2 separate regions of the Homo sapiens genome follow, and region 2 is linked to region 1. The links are contacts of gene promoters, found by promoter capture Hi-C in human tissues and cell types (Jung and others, 2019). All regions are on one chromosome and are shown on one strand. Each heading gives the region's core, a stretch centred on a gene start or on the middle of the fragment in contact. The rest is flanking DNA. Distances are from core to core; before and after follow the strand shown. Region 1 holds the start of DYNC1LI1 (dynein cytoplasmic 1 light intermediate chain 1). Region 2 overlaps TRIM71 (tripartite motif containing 71).

Region 1 (2,794 bases), core at 106-2,605:
GAGTTCTTTAGGCCCATCACTTCTAGAGGTTGGTCAGATATTAATGGTGTGAAAGGTAAAGAAAGTCATTGATAACAATTAACATGTGGTAAGCGCTTAAGATTTGCCAGTCGTTATTCTAAGCCATTTTACATGAATCATCCCGTTTAATCTCAATAACAACTCTAAGTTCTTTTATCCTCATTTGACAGATAAGGAAACTGAGACTCACGGAGGTTAAGTAAATTGCCTAAGGTTACACAGCCAGTAAACTCGAAGAGCTAGACCTGAACTCAGATTTGCCAGCCTCCAAAGGCTTCCAGACTTCTAACCGTAATGCTAATATATAGCAAATAGTCTTTAGTTGTGGATTTTCTCACTAGCATAACAGCATTGATCAGGCCATATTCTAGCAAGTGATTTTCAAATATGAAGTGACAGAGATAACATACAAAGGCCAGGCAATTTTAAGCAAATGCTCTTACAGGTGTACTAGGACAGAGCCTTAAAACCAATGACTCCTTCTAAACATGGAGTTCAGACATTCAAATACCTTTACCTAGTAAAGTTCTAATAGAAAAGGAGTTATTTTAGGGCTAGTATAAGTCCATCCATGTATTCCCAGTGTCAACTGTGCTCGACGTAGTAAGTGTGGAATCAATGTCTAGTGACCGGTTAGATGACCCGCATAGTGGATCTTTTCAAATCTCACATGGAGGATCTCATACAAAAACATTAAGAACATTAAAGCAAGCCCTGACAATAATTTTTAAAAAATAACAGTCTATTTCCAGGGTAAACAATTACTTTGTCACGCCGCTGCTTAGGGGCTCGGAGAACCTGCTTCTGATGTGGGTCCAGGTTGAGGAACACTTCGCCACTTGAGAACGCAAATAAAGTCCAGAAATCCAGGACCACAGCAATACTCCAGCCCAGGGTTGCAGGGCAGCCTCTTTACCAGCCGGGCGACCCATTTCTATCTTGGCGCCGGCGAAGCGCCGGTTTGGGCGGGGGACCGCTCTCAGCCTGAACAGTGGGTGGGCCGGCAATGACAATGCAGGAATTCCGCGCAGGCCGCAGGGTTTGGGGACCTGTCTGAAGGGTGGGAGGGAGCACTTTTCACCTGACACACCCAACCCCCCTGCCGCAGCCCAGGGCCGCGGATGAGCGGAAGGAAAGCACTTCCATACTGTCAGATCACTGGGCTTCAGTTGCAGCATAGCGGCCCACCCCGCCGCCCGCGTACGCTCAGCCCCTCAGCGCCGGCCAGGCAGCCACGCACGCGCAGTCCGTTCTCGCTCGCTCCATCAGTCCTGGCCCGGCCCGGGGCCCCGCCCCCGCAGGCCCCGCCCCGCTCCCGTGCGCTGAACGCCCCATATCCGGGTTCCCGCCGCCTCCACCGCCACCGCCTCAGCCGCCTCGCACATTTAGTCTTGCCGGGAGTGGTGTGATTCCCGACCAAGATGGCGGCCGTGGGGCGAGTCGGCTCCTTCGGTTCTTCTCCGCCGGGATTATCCTCGACTTACACTGGCGGCCCCTTGGGCAACGAGATAGCGTCGGGCAACGGTGGCGCCGCGGCAGGCGACGACGAGGACGGGCAGAACCTTTGGTAACGACTCCACCTCTCCCTCAGCCCCCGCTGGCTCCCCCGGCCTTGCGCGGACGCCTCGGGATCCCGTGCCCGCTGGAGCTCGGCGCCGGGCCCGGCCACTGCGTTCCCGGCAGCCCCATCCCCGGCGCGCCGAGGCCGGGTCCGTCCCTCCCGCGCTGCGGCTCCGGCCTCCGGCCTCACCGTACGCCTTGCTTCCCGTTAGGTCCTGCATCCTCAGCGAGGTCTCCACCCGCTCGCGCTCCAAGCTCCCTGCGGGGAAGAACGTGCTACTGCTGGGTAAGTGTTCCCTGCCTCGCCCCGCCCCGCCCGGCCCCCAGCGGCCCGGGGTACCTGGTCCGCGGGCTAGCTCGCTGGCTCTCTTTGTGCGGACAGCCGGCCCAGCCCCGCCCCGCCTCGCCTCCCGACCTGTCGCGGATGGCTGGGAGAGAAGGGGAACACGAGACCCTTGACCCAGGACCTGCGGGGACCCGCCCTCCCTCAGGTTCCTCCTCCTCCTCCCCGGTATATGGGGGTGGCCCTGACAGCTTCCCCTGGGAAGGACAGAATTCGATCGCTCATCTGAGGGATTCTCGTGGCCTGGGGTTTATCTAGAAAATGACAGGTTTTCTTTCATCACAAAAATTGGTAGCAGGAGGCTCTTTGCGAGAGCTGCAGCGCAAATGGCATGCCATTAATATTTAATAGCTGACTCTTTGTATAATTGACAGAAGCTAGAACTAAGACCTGGCGATAAATGTTCTTGATTCAGCGTTCTCTGGTACAATGTGCTCGTGTTGCAGCTACCTTAACTGTCACATATAATTCTGAAATTTGTAAAGGGCAGTAGAACACAACTTTCTAGTTAAGTCTTTTCAGCCAAATGGATGTAATAAGGAGAAACGGTCCAGTGTCAGTTCTCCTGATTGTTCTGTATCTCCTCGGCTCTCTGGAAGTTGTGTATTCTGTTTCTTTAGTGACTCTGGGGGTGGGGATAGAGGACTGAGGGAGAATAGTTCGCAGATTCGCATTTTTCTAGGCTTAGCTCCTGAATCATTTATAGGAGAAATTTCTCTATATAGCTCTTTACATGCGAGATAACTGAAGTTTGGCTTATACGATGATTAAATTTAAAAACTTTGGTATTTGGTGTCGGCTCAATACCAGAGTTTTTTGTTGTTGTTGTTGTTGTTTTGGTTATATCCATCTAAAAACAGGAAACAAGAA
Region 2 (2,794 bases), core at 120-2,619, 310 kb before region 1:
GACAGATATTACATCCACATTACCTAAAAGTTAAAAAATCAGAATGGCCAAGCAAATGAGCATGCATATAAGCAGGTATCATAATAGCATTGATACATTTTTAGTATCTCACGCTGTCAGGATTCATCCAGGGAAAAAGAGAGAAAGCGAGAGAGAGCAAGAGAGCTCCCTAGACATTTAAACAGAATTTAGCATAGGGAAATGGTTAAACAGGTATGGGAGAACTGCTGGGGCAAAGAGCACACTGAGGCAGAGAGTACCTGCAGAAGCAGCTTCTTCTGCTTTGTCTGAGAGAACAAAGGAAAGAAAGCTGTGGTTACAAGAACCCAGAATAAGATGGTGAGGTTACATCCAGCTAATTCTGAGAGTGGCAAGATCTGAAATTGAAACCAACTTCTGCTGTCAGGGTGAAAAAGAATTGCTATTAAAAATTGGGGCCGGGTACGGTGGCTCACACCTGTAATCCCAGCACTCTGGGAGGCAGAGGCAGGAGGATAGCTTAAGCCCACGAGTTTGAGATCAGCCTGGCCAAGAGTGAGACCCCGTCTCTACAAAAAAATAAATTAGCCAGGCATGGTGGCGCTTGTGTATAGTCCCATCTACTTGGGAGGCTGAGCTGGAAGGATTGCTTGAGTCTTGGGAGATCGAAGCTGCAGCAAGCTGTGACTGCACCACCGCGCCCCCCAGCCTGGGTGACAGAGCAAGACTCTGTCTCAAAACAAATATATAATATGATAATAATATAAGTAATATGAATTGGAAGAAAAAGGGAAGAAGTCCTTTTCCCATACATGTAGTTTGAAGAGTCACAGCCCCAGTGTCACATGGCAAGAGTGTGACAGGGTTAGAGCCCAAAGAGTAGAACTTAGTAACCGGCACCCTCTATATTTTTAGATGTGTTGGTTATTAATTAGCACAACTGGTGTCCAAGCTAATATTTCACCAAGGCAACCAAACCTATGTCTGTAACATTTCTTAATCCTTCCTCAATAGAAAGCAGAGGTGGCAAACTGCTTTCTATTAATATTAATGTCATACTACTTGCCAAATTGATTTTTTTACATCTAACTTCTATCATATGTTAGAAGAAAAAAAAAGACCCAGCCTGGGCTACAAGAGCAAAACTCTGTCTCAAAAAATAAAAAAACAAAAACACCACTCCCTTTGCATAGGAATGGGTGTACTACCCTACTCACCTCTTCCCCTAGTCTCCTAGCCAGGCTTATCGCTTATCCCTCATGTCTGGAACTCACATTTTATGACAAAAATTGCTTCTTCCATTTTTCAAACAGGTTCAAAGGGGGATTCAAAGCTTTTGTTGCAATTTTAATAATCAGCAAGCATGCAAAGATATTCCTTGGGCTGAGAGTCACAAAAGCCCTACCCAATGCATAGTGGAAAAATAGGTCTTTCCCTTCCAAATTACGCACGACCCAGCCAAGCATGGCATTCCAAGATGTGCAGACCAGGACTTATTGAACTAGTTCCCAACCTCTAACAGCAGGGCATCTGAAGGACATACAGGGCAGATAGGTTGGGGGAAATGACAATGTAGAAAGGCTGGGTAAACTTCCAAAACAGATATATACATTTCACAGTAAGAAAAGAGAAATCACCCAACAAGCATGGTGCTTGAGAGAAAATTTAACCATCTTTGGGATGTTAACAGATCTAATTAAACATTTAAAAGTTGAGGGTCTACATTTGGACTGGCAAATCAGTGCACTTTCCAGCTGACTACTGAGTGGCAGTCAGTCAGCATGGTGGAGACTTGGGCCAAATCTGGCTCTCAAGGGAAAGAATATAGATATCGATCAGTGATGCCAACTGTGGAGAACAGTGGTATTTAAAGAGCCCAACGGTCAGAAGGTAAGAGAATGCAATCATCACCCATACACTTGTAGGCGACCATACTGGGTATGCGGAGCTACTGTGGTGCACTCTAAAATGTAATTTTTGGCCAGGCGCAGTGGCTCATGCCTGTAATCCCAACACTCTTGGGAGGCTGAGGCAGGTGGACTGCCTGAGGTCAGGAGTTGAGACTAGCCTGGCCAACATGGTGAAACCCCGTCTCTACTGAAGATACCAAAATTAGCCAGGTGTGGTGACGGGTACCTGTAATCCCAACTACTCAGGAGGCTGAGGCAGGAAAATCACTTGAACCCGGGAGGCAGAAGTTGCAGTGAGCCAAAATCGTGGCACTGAACTCCAGCCTGGGCAACAGAGTGAGACTCCACCTCAAAAAAATATATATATATACATATATAAAATTTTCATCACATCTTTCTCTGAATCTATAATTCATCTCTAAATTGTCCGTGGGTTTCTTCCTTTGTTAGTTGTATGTAAAATAAATGTACACCTTACAATTAATGGCATCTTAAATGTGATGAAATATAGTAATTGAAGAATCAAAACTTTCTTATGTAGAAACCAACTATTCCTGATCCTGTTTATCGCTATCCCCAGCAAATCAGTTTACCTTGTGGAATCCTCTAATAACATACATGACCAAAATGTCATATATTCAAGAAAAGCAGCAAAGTGAAAGTAACAGAATGTTCAAAAAAGCAATAAAAATGAGTGGTTGCCCCCTAAATGCCCTACAACAGTGATGAGGTGCTACATCTTCCATGCTGTTCTTGTTATGGCCAACTCTAGACACTCACCAGGGTAGATTCTCTTTATAGGACAATCCAGAATTAACTCAAGGATTTGTATCTGGAGCTCTTTCCAGAACCAAGACTCTCAGGACAAGTTGTGAGTCTCTTTAAAGTCATAAGTTAGGAACTCT

The links. Contacts are between HindIII fragments. The study calls those that stand out against the background at their distance.
Region 2: a contact is called between a fragment that was not itself captured here and the fragment with the promoter of DYNC1LI1 in region 1, in 1 of the 25 tissues and cell types used here (liver).

Annotation. Positions count from the first base shown.
Region 1 is chr3:32,569,419-32,572,212 of GRCh38, reverse strand. It overlaps DYNC1LI1 (dynein cytoplasmic 1 light intermediate chain 1), which reads left to right and starts at 1,355. Exons shown (of 13, transcript NM_016141.4): 1 at 1,355-1,588; 2 at 1,794-1,867. The coding sequence starts at 1,443. RefSeq lists silencers at 1,158-1,417, 1,598-2,087 and an enhancer at 1,362-2,147. The HindIII fragment of the contact is 21,345 bases long and covers 1-2,794 here.
Region 2 is chr3:32,880,483-32,883,276 of GRCh38, reverse strand. All of the region lies in intron 2 of TRIM71 (tripartite motif containing 71), which reads right to left. Among named protein-coding and RNA genes, the nearest start is that of TRIM71, 64 kb to the right of the region's middle. The HindIII fragment of the contact is 5,549 bases long and covers 1-2,794 here.